Regions from separate parts of the Homo sapiens genome. Here region 2 is linked to region 1. Evidence: promoter capture Hi-C in 16 types of primary human blood cells and fetal thymus (Javierre and others, 2016). All regions are on one chromosome and are shown on one strand. Each heading gives the region's core, a stretch centred on a gene start or on the middle of the fragment in contact. The rest is flanking DNA. Distances are from core to core; before and after follow the strand shown.

The links. Contacts are between HindIII fragments. The CHiCAGO score rates a contact against its expected background, and 5 or more counts as called.
Region 2: a contact is called between a fragment that was not itself captured here and the fragment with the promoter of SUPT3H in region 1, in 2 of 17 cell types (endothelial precursors and neutrophils). The highest score is 5.3, in endothelial precursors.

Annotation. Positions count from the first base shown.
Region 1 is chr6:45,375,306-45,381,694 of GRCh38, forward strand. SUPT3H (SPT3 homolog, SAGA and STAGA complex component) reads right to left here and starts at 2,629. Exons shown (of 11, transcript NM_003599.4): 1 at 2,463-2,629. The region is part of intron 2 of RUNX2 (RUNX family transcription factor 2); the gene reads left to right. RefSeq lists silencers at 2,271-2,550, 2,871-2,920 and an enhancer at 2,561-3,104. The HindIII fragment of the contact is 7,128 bases long and covers 1-3,050 here.
Region 2 is chr6:45,650,489-45,656,600 of GRCh38, forward strand. No RefSeq gene overlaps it. Among named protein-coding and RNA genes, the nearest start is that of RUNX2-AS1, 77 kb to the left of the region's middle. RefSeq lists an enhancer at 5,208-6,112. The HindIII fragment of the contact is 5,632 bases long and covers 665-6,112 here.

The sequences.
Region 1 (6,389 bases), core at 1,379-3,878:
TGTGGTCCCAATTCGAACATTTTGATAGTGAAAGGGGTTCTATTAAATAAAATAATTGTGCTGGAACAATCAGGCTTTATACTACGACTGTCTCAGAAAAATTAAGATACTATAGTCACCCATAAAAGCACCCCATTCTGATTTGTATATTATGAGCTATTCTCTCCATCTGATTTAACTCGTGAGCTTTAAGTTATTGCTCCAGATCTAACAATTATCTTCAGCCTTAAGACCAAGAGCATCATTTTTTTTTTTAAAGAGACAAGGTCTCCCTCTGCAGCCCAGGCTGGAAGCCTGGCCTGACCATGATTCACTGCAGCCTTGAACTCCTAGGTTCAAGAGATCCTCTGGCCTCAGCCTCCCAAAGTGCTGGGATTACAAGCATGAGCCAACGTGCCTGGCCCAAGGGCACCATTTTACAGACATCAGGCCAAGGTTAAGGGTGCTACCGCTACCTATAAAGGTTTTTTATTTGTTCTTTTAGTTTTATTTTCAAATTTGACTTTATATACACTTGCTTTAAAAAAAAAAAACAGATGCACATATTTCAAGTAAAGTAATTTTGTGAAACATCTATTACCTAATTTCACTTATCTCTCCAAAAGATTTGGATAACCATAAAACTAGTTCTAAAATGTCCTAATGCTCAAGAGTTACAATTTTTCAAATCGCTTTATTACACAAAAGGTTAAAAAAGAAAAAAACTTGAATAAGAGCTGGAAACTTCTCACTGAAAAACCAACCAAAGTGGTAAAAGATAGCAGAAACCGACAATCACAAAATAGTACAATAATGTTTAAAGAAAACTCCAGTTAATACTGTCATAGCTCTCTGAATCTGGCATTAGCTGTACAACCTAGGAGACAACGTTTTGCTTTAATTTGTCAAGATGTAAATAAGTACTAACAGACCCATGGTCTGAACTGCAGTATTTGAATGAAAGGCATTATTTGAATATAATTACAATTCCCTATGGCAATAAATGTTCCAAAGAGCTGGCTTATCTGATTTAAAACTCAACCATATCAAGACTCGGAAGGACTCTCAAAATCTAAATTGTAGCCCTGTGCTGTCCAATGCAGTAGCTACCACTAGCCACATGTGGGTATTTAAACGTAAATCAATTTATTAATTTATGAATAAAATTAAAAATTAAGTTCCTCAGTGACACTTATCACATTTCAAGTGCTGAAGAGCCACTGTGCCTAGGCTACCACTAGTGCCTAAAGGCACAGATTATGGAACATCTCCATCAAGGCAGAAACTGCTAGTGAAAAGTGCAGCCCTAGACTTAGGCATACTTCGCTCCAACGTCCCGAATATCCTGAGATAAGAAACTTTCCATAGCACAATGAAGAGCATTCCATTCTTGCAAAGTACTCTCACGAACTGTTTCTCATAGGCAAATTCAGCCTCTTTGAAACATTCACCAGAAATTCCCCAAGTTTTGTCCTTCAAGTAAATCTTTGCAGGGCGAATTTAATTCCTCTTCCAGAGTCTGCCCTTCACATATACTAAGACCCCAGGTCCTCTCCTTCCAAATACATACATACATATATACACATACATATACTTATATACACACATATGTATATACATATATATACACACACATTTCTTTCTACCGAAATAACTTAACATTTCTATTAGCCTCTTGGAGAAATGCTAATTTATCCACGTGTACAGTAATACTACGTCCAGGATCGTCTGAGTGTCAAATATTACATATCACTGTCTTCATAACTTCACTCTCACGTGTGAGACCAAGTGTCCTGATTCTCTGAGAAAATAAGGTCACAGTCATTCTGAACTCCTAAAACGTGGAGAGCAAAAGCAGAGCTAATATGTACTGAGCAGCACCTGGCGCTGTTCTAAGCGTTTAACGTGTATTTTCTCATATAATCCTCACAATTCTGAAATAGGCTATAAGATCGCCATTTTACAGACCAAAACAAGGCAAAGACAAGCTAAATAATTTCCCCAGGGGTCACAGACGTGAGCTCACCCCACAGAGAACACAGCGGATCTTTTCCTCTTTCTGGATGCTACACTCCCACTAACTACCTAACTCTTCTCTCGCCGTGCCATAAAGCAACAATTTCCCTCTTTAATGATTCCTCCGGCAGCCCCCACACTACCTAGACGACCCGCGCACCCCGCTTCTCAGCACAGCCCAGCCCCCCTCACCCCACGCCCACCCGCCAAAAGGGAGGAGTCGAGAGGCAACTCCACGCTCGGCAGCGGAACCAGGGCGCTGCGCCCGGCCAGCGCCTCCCACAGCCGCCCTCCCTTCAACACTCCGGCGTAGACCACGAAGACCCAGGCAGCCGCCCTCGAGCCGGGGCCAGGGCGTGGCCGGCGCGGGGGCCCAGCGACGCTGGGATCTCCGCTCTGCGTCCCTCCCGGCTCTCTGACGTCTCCCCCGCCCGAATCCCCGCACCGCCCCCCGCAAGCCCTACAACCTCTGCTTTAAGAACCCTTGGAGGCACTGCTGCGCTTCCCGCGAGGAGAATGTGGGGGTGGAGATGGTGCGGTTTCTGCTGCTGCGGCCCGGGACACGCTTGGAAAGGGGCGGGGTGGGGGACTGAGAGTGTGGAGTGTAGAAAGGGAAAAGGTGACTCGGCTGTGTGACGGGGCGATGGGGGGGGTACAAGATGGCGTGAGCCCGACTCTCGGTGGGGCGGGGGTTGCGGAGACTGAGGAGTAAGCGATACGGACGCCCCCCGCACTGGCAGTGCGGGCGCATGCGCGCTTGGCCAGGTGGCGCGCGCTCTCCCAGCCCGAGCGAGCTACTTCCGCCACGCTCGCCGGGGGCGGGGCGTTGTGCGCGGCCTTCAGGGCCCGGCTTGGGCAGCGCTGAGCCACGCGGCGGCGTTTAGAGCTGGGGACGCTGGGAGCGGAGTGGGGACGAGCTGAGATCGGTCAGGGTGTACAGGGTGCAGGCTTGAATTCTTTAGGAATTGGGCCCGAGAGGGCTAGGATTTTTGAAGGATTGGGTGACCGGCACTGGAAGTTGATTTTCAACTCCGAGGAAGAGATTCACCGTTCTAAGCTTCTTTCCAGGAATTGGAGTGAACGGGATCTTAATGGGATTGCGCGTTTACAATGGTGAAGGGAAACGGAGGGGTCTGAACGCTCCCCGCAGGGCCGCAGTACAGGCGTGTGGATGTGGAACCCTTTCTGGGACGGCGAAACCAGCTCTTACGCCGCTTCCGCGCGCCATCACTCCCTACCCTGACCTCGCACAGAATCTGTTTCATTAATCTGCTATTAATGTTTTTTCCCCAACTCATGTTACTAGACGCAGGCGTTTAACTACCATGTTTTGTTATTGAAAACTTTTTCTACTTGAAGGCTTTTTTTTTTTTTTGGACGATTCTGTGTTTAGATTTTGGCCTGTTCCTCATTTTAAAATCTTGCACCCCCAGTATTGTACTGTACATTCTGTCCTGCCACATTTAATTGATATAGATGTAGTTCTTTAAATAATACAGTAGTCGTAAGACAATGCTTTCAGTCTTTCACTCTTTATATTATATGAAGTCTTATTTATATTTAACATTCTTATTGCCTGCTTAGAGAAGAAAACTGGTTATCCATGCTCACCTTCACACCTGTGTTGTCAAATACTATAAAATACTGTATTTTATAGGGATTCAAGTATTAACCCTCACCAAGTCTTTTTAAGCATCACTGCTTCAGTTATTTTCTTGCCTATAGATACTGTGAGTTCTGAAATCCCTTCCTTCTATTTGCTTAAATTGTTTAAAATAGCAACTTATTTGGTTATTTCCTCTGTGGATTGTAGTTGAGTCTGCTAGTGTTGTGTTTGATTCTCTTTAATCTCCCCAACGCTTCAATATTTGCCAAATACCTAAAATTCCAAAAGAATAGATATATTTAGGATGTGAGAGCTCAGCTTGATGTGTAAATCAGGGATCAATTCATTGCTGAGCAAAGTGTGCAGTATAAGGGAAAGTAACAGAGTGAGTATGGTGATAACTTCTTACATGGGAAGACTGGTTGAAAGCTCTTTTGAGTACATTACCAAGAAATTAGTTAACAGAAGATTAAGAGAAAAATTAATGTTCACATCTAAAGAAACATAAAAGTAGATCATTTCAATTAAAATTATGTTCAGTTAATGTTATCATAGAAGTTCCTGCACTGGAGTTTCACCTGCATCAGATGAGTACCTGTTTGATCCAGTTTATCAGGATAGAATCCAGATCATCTTATTCTAGGATACTGGTGTCCAGCCTGCATAAAATCACACACAGGCCAGGCGCGGTGGCTCACGCCTGTAATCCCAGCACTTTGGGAGGCCGAGACGGGCAGATCACAAGGTCAGGAGATCGAAACCATCCTGGCCAACATGATGAAACCCCGTCTCTACTAAAAATACAAAAAAGTATCCGGGCGTGGTGGCACGTGCCTGTAGTCCCAGCTACTCGGGAGGCTGAGGCAGGAGAATCGCTTGAACCTGGGAGGCGGAGGTTGCAGGGAGCCGAGATCACGCCGCTGCTCTCCAGCCTGGCAACAGAACTAGACTCCGTCAAAAAAAGAAAAAAAAAAATCACGCACAACAAAAGTTAATGAGAGTGACACATGGAGAAGGGAAACTGAGTTAAGGCATTGATACAGGAAGTTTAAAAATTTATTCTTAGGAAACTGAATTGGGCTGTTGGCAGAGATCTGATTTTTAAAGTCACATGAGTTAACCAGGTTCCTACCTCCTGGAATTTCTTAAAATCCATTTTTGAAAATCTGATTTAGCCATAATTTTGCTCATAGTTTGAGACCATTGCTATATACAAAGGGCCAAAAATATTTTTGCATTACATTCATATCAAATATCCTAAACTATCAATGGTACTAGGGTATCTTAATTATAACAAAGCTAAAACAGCGAAGCTGTTGCTGAAGTTAAGGCTTTGATGACTACCACCTCTCAGAAAAACAAGTGATTTTCCAAGGCATGTGGGGAAAACACATCAGGAGACCAAGTTAATTTATCACTCCACAAAAATGTCTCCATGACCTGGACAAAATTGTTAAAGAAAAATGAAGCATTGTTAGCGTAGACTTTAACGTTCCTCTGGCATGTAATATTCACGTAGACTCACTAGTGCAAAGAGAAAGTGCATGTATCTAAGTAAAAGTGCCCATGGGCATCTTAAAATGATTAGGTAGTAAGCCCACATTCTCAAAAGAGCAGCAGAAGTCATGGCTAATATGGAACCATCTCTCTGATTCCATGGAAGTGGTTTCTTTTTATTATTATTTTTTGAGACAGAGTCTCGCTCTGTCACCCAGGCTGGAGTGCAGTGGCCCGATCTCGGCTCACTGCAACTTCCTCTTCCCCAATTCAAGCGATTCTTCTGCCTCAGCCTCCTGAGTAGCTGGGATTACAGGCGTGTGCCACCACGCCCGGGTAATTTTTGTATTTTTAATAGAGACGGGGTTTCACCATGTTGGTCAGGCTGGTCTCAAACTCCTGACCTTGTGATCTGCCTGCCTCGGCCTCCCAAAGTGCTGGGATTACAGGTGTCAGCCACCGCACCCGGCCAGAAGTGGTTTCTTCTCATGTGGATGCTACAGTGACAGTTCAGGTGACTTGGAAATTCTTTGTTGTTTGAGATTCATAACTCTTACTTGCTAGGATGTTTGTGGGGACTTTTTATTTTCTATTTATCAATTATTTCATCCTTTGCTATATTTGCCTTCTATTTTTAATGCTTAAGTTGTCACCATGGAAATAAACTGGGTAGATTGCATATTGTTTAGAACCGTATATTGCAATTGTTGCTATATTTGTTTTCTGACGTTGAGAACTGTTTTCCAATTGCATTCTCAAAAGTATCTTGTTTTATGTTTAGAGCAAGTTGTTCTGACCAAAAAGATTACTCAGCCCGGTAGTACCTGAGCAAGTCACTTAACATCATTGCACCCCAGTTTTTGTATCTGTGGAATGAGATGATAGAACCAAATGAACTAAAACCTTACAGCCCTAAAATTCTATGTTCCTTCAAAATGGGAATAGCCAAAGGATGGATACTAAAGTTGTGCAGAATAATTTCAGCATTTGTGCTACAAAAATTACAAAAGTATTCAGGGCTTTTCTTTTTTTTTTCTTTTGAGACAGGGTTTCCCTCTCTGTTGCCCAGGCTGGAGTGAAGTCATGCAGTCATAGCTTACTGTAGCATCAACCTTCTGGGCTCAAGCAATCCTTCCACCTCAGCCTCCTCAGTAGCTGGGACTACAGGCATGTGCCACTACACTCAGCTAATTTTTAAATTTTGTGTATAGATGGGGATCTCCCTAGGTTGCCCAGGCTGGTCTCAAACTCCTAGGCTTAAGAGATCCTCCTGCCTCAGCCTCCCAAAGTG
Region 2 (6,112 bases), core at 2,231-4,730, 280 kb after region 1:
CTGCATAAACAGGGATCTTTGTGTAGTTCTGGAGAATATTAATAGTCTGATCAAGTTTGTTGTAAATATATTTCCCTTATCTCCTCTAACTTGGGGACTGTACAGAGGGAGAGTCAGGGAGAGGGAGGGGGCCTTCTGGATTTTTGCCCAGGGTTACTCAGCAGGGACATGGTTTTCCTAAAGTTCCAGAAGGGAGGGGAGGCCACTGCAAGCTCCACCATGTGTCCCAGTATATCATGTTGACTCATGACTAGATCTTGAGAAAAACTCACAGAAGTCAGGAAATTCCTGGCAAATGCTCTCATCTCACCCTCTGCTAACCTTGCAGGGAGAGCATAGGTAGGGTCAGATCGGAGGATGTTTTTAAAAGGAAAAATCAAAGCATGTCTGTAGCTTCTGCATGCCTGTAGTGGGACAAAGAGTCCTAACAGGCCTGGCTGAAGATGCAGAAGCAGCTTCAAGCCCCAGTGACCAGGGACAGCCAGCACTGGTATGTTTCTTCGTTCTAGATTTTTATTTCTGCAAAAGATTTTCCCCCTCTCCTTGGCGTTGTTTCCCCATGGGGAGTAGCATCTTTCTTTTTGAGCAAAGCCAAATGACCAAGGCACCACCCCCACCCCCTTCAATGGACAGGGCCAAATTTAGAGTTGGGGTTGCTCATTTAAGCTTTGTATGTAATTGAGCCTGGCACAAAGGGTTATCATTAGAAGGAATGGCATGAAATGAAGGAATGGAAAAGCTCAGACCCAAATTAGAAAAGATGTCCTGAGGGAGAGACACAGTGGCAAGGCTGGGAGCTCTGGTCTCAGAGGAATTCTTAGGAGAAAGGACTGGGCATTAAAAGTGCCTGGATGGGACAACTAGGGAACTGAATATGGCCCTGCCATCTCTTGGGATTATTTGCTTCTAAGTGCAAGGGCATGGTGGTAAGAGGTGGCAACAGACACCAGAGGCATCAATTGTTAAGAGCCAGCGTCTGCTCCCAGGGCACCATGGAATGCTGAAATAGGATTATCCTCTTACCAGATGTTTACCAAGTGTGTCCAGGGCTGGGCAGTGTTACTTTATTCCCCAAGCAAATGGAAGGTGCTAGAGGACTCAGCCAGTTCCGCTGACTTACTGAACATCCTTGTCGGAAACCTTGCTGCCTATTGCTTTGGGGAATGGAGCCATCACCTCCCTCCTCTCCAGATGGGGTGTCCTACTGCTTGGTTGCTCAGTGTGGGTTGGGGACTTGGCAAGGGAACACCATGGAACAAACCAAGGAGGCTTTTTCTCTGAGGTGCCTGTCCCGGCTGACACATCTGTCACCCTTGGCTCCCCCCGGAAGTCCTGGAGCTTGATGGTGTGAAGAGGGCCCAAGTGAACTCCATACGGCTGGGCGCAGCTTGCCCGTTCACCCTGCAGGATCAGTCCTCCTGCCTGCCTATCCTAGCTGTCCCCCCGTCCTCCTGGTTGACTCACGTGGGAGCTGGCAGCAGGGGGCTGCAGTCGTTCCCTCCGCTCCTCGCCAGACTGTCTCTGCTCCCCACATTAATGGTGGTGTCCTAGCTCCATGTGACCCCGGCTTCTAATATTCTTGGGTTAGTTCAGACTATACAGCTGGCCCAACTCTAGGCTTCCTAGCCTTGTTAAAGCCAAAATGCTGTCTTTTACTACCCTGCTCTTTCCATCAAGTTCTTCAAGCAACCCGAGTTTTAGAAGCTAGATGACTCTTTTGGTGAGCTCTTCCTCTGGGGGTAGGGAGCCTGGGTTTCAGTAGGGCCTGGACTGGGCTACATCATTGTTATTTTTTTTTAATGGTAGTTTTAGAAAAGAAGGTTCAAAGGTGAGTGACCCTCCAGGAGGAAGGATTAAGTGGGTTGACTTGGGAGCCATTCAACCCAGGAGGCATTGCTAAGGAACATAATCTATTTTGCATTTCGTTTCATGAGCCAAAGTCAGTTATGGCATAGGAATAGCTTTCTCATGCTGTCTCTCCCTTTCTCCATTCTACAAAAATATTCATGCCAAATAATATGCAAGTTGTATAAACATCCCTTCAAAAAGCACATAAAGATATTATATATAGTCACATATGTCTCCTTCCAAATGGGTGTGTTCCTAGAGATGCATAGAGATATCTTTCACACCCTATATGTAAAAAACAGCCAATTTAAGAATTGGCAGAACAGCCTTGCCTAAGTGAGTAGAAAACTTTGGCTCAGGGCTCTCCAAACAATCCCATAAAACCCATGCTTGCTTTTATTGAATGGTGATGCATGAAAGACCAAGGGTGGCCAACTTGAATGAGGGCAGGAGCCAGCGTTCACAGGATTGTCATAAAGGGTGGCAGGAAAGTTTCTTTTTGCTGAAATTCAATCTATTCCTAGAAAAAAAAAATTGCTTCCAATACTGGCTGGCTGGATGTCACTCTTATGTTCACTTCTGCTGCAACATCATTTGAGCTCATCAATGTTCAAGATGTTACTTTTACATTTGGTCTTCTCGCCTCCAGCCTCATCCCATCCATTTCAGCCTCCACTCCACTGGCTGCCAAAGTAATCTTTTTAAAAGGCAAATCAAATCTATTACTTTCCTACTTAAAACCCTTTGGTGGCTCCCCGTTGCCTGCTAAAGTTCAAATTCCTTAGCTTGGTAGACAAACTCCCTCAACCTTCTGTCCTCCGTTACCCTTTAAGCCATTCCATGAAGTCCCCCAGCCCCATGGACGCTCCACTCCAGCCATTTCAGACGGCCTTTGAGGCCACAGTCTTCCAAGCCTCATGCATTTGCACATGCAATTTCCTCCACTGGCATATTCCCTGGGGATATGAGTGGAACAGTGATAGCATCTGTGGTCAGAGCAAGGGGGACAGGAAGATGATGTGGTAGAGTGGAGGGTGGCACTTTTAACTAGGGTGGCCAGAAAAGCACACTTGAGAAGGTGACTTTGAGTGAAGGCTGACGGAGATGAGGGAGACAGCCTGCAGATATCTGAGGGAAGAGCATTTCAGGCAGCAGGAACAGCAAGTGTAAAGGCACTGAGGTGGGAATGTGCTTGGTGCCTTCAAGGAATAGTTGGAGTAGGGTGAGCAATAAAGGGATGAGGTGTCTGGAAGTTGGGTGAGGACCATGGAGCTCTTGACCCAAACACTTGCCAGTGTTGCCAGTGGGAATGAGTGACCTGAGCCAGAAGGTTGGCTGTGAAATGCTTGGAGGTTGCAACACTTTGCTTATAATGCAGATGAGTGTAAGAGTGGTTCTGAAAGTGTCAGGCTCTAGACTTTACTTTCTCCCAACCTGCATCCACACAGTCTCAACAAAGCCATTTTACTAGAATTTGACACCCTGATGACTAAAAAACCAGACATCTTTGAGGAGGCATTAATGTTTAGTTAGAGTCCAGGACTGGGTAAGTAATCCTCATCCTCAGGAGCCTCCGGGGTGCTTAACCCATACCTGATCTATCATGTTCTCCATAGCAATTTATTTTATCAGCTCTTCCCATTCCCATTTTATAAACATTTATGGTAATGCCATATATAGATCTTTCAAGTGCTTGGACAAAATTGTGAATTAAGGTGTCAAACTTCTCCTCCACCTTTTTATTGTGGTAAAGTATACACAACATGAAATTTACTATTTTAACCATTTTTAAGTACATAGTTCTGTGGCATTAAGTACATTCACACAGTTGGGCAACCATCACCAGAACTTCATCCTTCCCAACAGAAGCTCTGTATCCTTTAAGCACTAACTCCCCCTCATTTTGCTTTCTGTCTCTATCAATTTGACCACTCCAGGAACTTCATACAAAAGAAATCATACAATGTTTTGTGTACTGGCCTTTGTGACTGGCTTATTTCACTTGGCAGAGGTCTCCAAGTTTATCCATCTTGTAGCATATATCAAAATTTCCTTCCTTTTTAAAGCTGAACAATATTCCATTGTATGTTTGTGCCACATTTTGTTTATTCTTTCATTCATGGATAGGCACTTGGGTTGCTTCCACCTTTTGACTCTCGTGAATAATATTGTTATGAACATGGGTGTACAGGTATCTGCTCTCACTTCTTTCTCTTCCCTTCTTTAAAGGTAGTCTTTGAGCAGAAGCACCTCTTGGCTGCTTGAATCCATCTGGATGGCTGCCCTTCTCCCTTGTCTTGACTTGGCTTTATTATCAATTGATGATGAAGTCTGTTTCTGATGAGCTCAACCCTCAGCCACCAGAAAATTAGGCTCTGAATGATATATACAGAAATAAATGTGTGATGACTTTTCTAATGTCACTCCTTGGGAAATCACTAGCACTGCTAGAAACAGAGACTAGGGATTTCCCCAGGGCTGGGCCTTCTCATTCTCAGATGGTGGCCCCTTAGGGGTCAAAGCCACAGAAGATGGCCAGTATTCTGCCTGGGAGAGTCAGTGGGCACCTCCCAGCCAGGGCTCCTGGACATCTCTTCGGAGATCCTGGTCCATTGGCTGCAGCAGAGCCTGGATGAAGCCAAGGCCGTGGTTTCAGCTGCCCCTGGGCCAACCCTCCTGACTCAGTGGCTATAGACTGCATTGCTACTCTCAGGCAGCTGACCTAAACAGCACTTGGACTTGAACAAACAAAATGAAAATTGTAAAAGAAATTTATAATAGAAAAAAATCACATGTTTTCAAAATAGAGGATGCCCAAATATGAGAGAGAATGGAATGAACTGAACAAACATGGGTGTTGGAATCAGCCAGATATAGATCAAGACATGGGTCTTATCAGCCATGGGGTTTGTGCAAGCCATCCAAATTCTGTGAGCCTCAGCTTCCCCATTTACAAATGGATATAGGGTCATTAAATGAAAAAAAAATAAAAAACATGAAACTTGCTTTTATTGAGCAGACCTTATTGCATATTAGAATCACCTGGAGAACTTTTAAAACCTAGGATGTCTGGGTATGACTCCTAGAGATACTGATTTAATTGGTCAGGGGCACCGATAGTGTTTATAAAACTCCCCAGGTGATTTTAATGTGCAGTCAAGGTGGCATATAACTGGCCTAGAGTGTAGCAGACCCTCCTCAAATATTAGCTTTCCTCAGTCCTCCTCCCATGCCTGCAAAAACTCTAGAAAGCACATGCCCTCCCTCACATGGAATAGCCTTGGCATCAGCTGCCTTGGTTCATATCACAGCTCTGTGCCAGTGACCAGGGTTCCTAACATAGCCGAGCCTCAATTTCCTCAATGGTAAGATGGGATTGATGACAGAAACCACTTCTAGTTTTCTGTGAAGATTAGAAGAGATAACGCATGGCTTGGAGTTAGAGAGTACACAATAAATGTCAGCTCTTATTGTGAGCATGGTCAGTGTCAAGTCAAGAATCCCATCATTTCCACTGCAGCCAGCCCTTCTCACCCCCTCCCTCCCCAAACCCCAAAGCAGAGAAACCAACCCTCCTGTTCCCTGCAGAGGGCTGGTCAGTTCCAGCTCTCCTGCTGAGCCATGTTCCTAGGAGATGCCTGGTGAGAACTTGGGATCAGATTGAGTCAGAGGTATTTGTAGACTTGACTCACCAGGTCTTAAAACCAGAAGATTGCCCTGTGGGTCTCATGACATTCCTGGAAAATAAAAGAAGTGAATATTATTGGGCTGAGTTCATCAGACACTCAGCCCTCCCTTTTGTATGCCGGTGCTTCTGAAGAGAGCAGGCAGCAACTTAGCCAAGTCTGAACCATCAAAGGCAATGGCCTGGTTGCAGTGCAGGGAGATGTTGCTTCTCCTGAAGACAGGTCTGTTCCTCTTTCCATTCCTCTTCTCTTCCAGTCCCCCAAGGCTATCGACTTTCTCCTCCTTCCAGGTTCCTGGGAAAATGTTTCTGAGGGCTGCCTCTGGTGAGGTGTGTCAGAGCTGAGCTATTTTCGAGGGCTGGGTGTGGGCTGGGAAGGGGCCACCCATATTCCAAAGAATAAGAAAGGGAAAGTTCCCCTTCTGGAGCCAGGATTTCTGGAACCTTGCACTGAAGCCCCAGCCAGGTAGGGGACCCATTTCTCTGAGGCCTTCTTTCCCCACACTGCGTCACATCCCTAACAATAGTAAGTCCTGTTGTTTCCACATCCCAACTATCTCTAGAATCTACTTCTCTGTA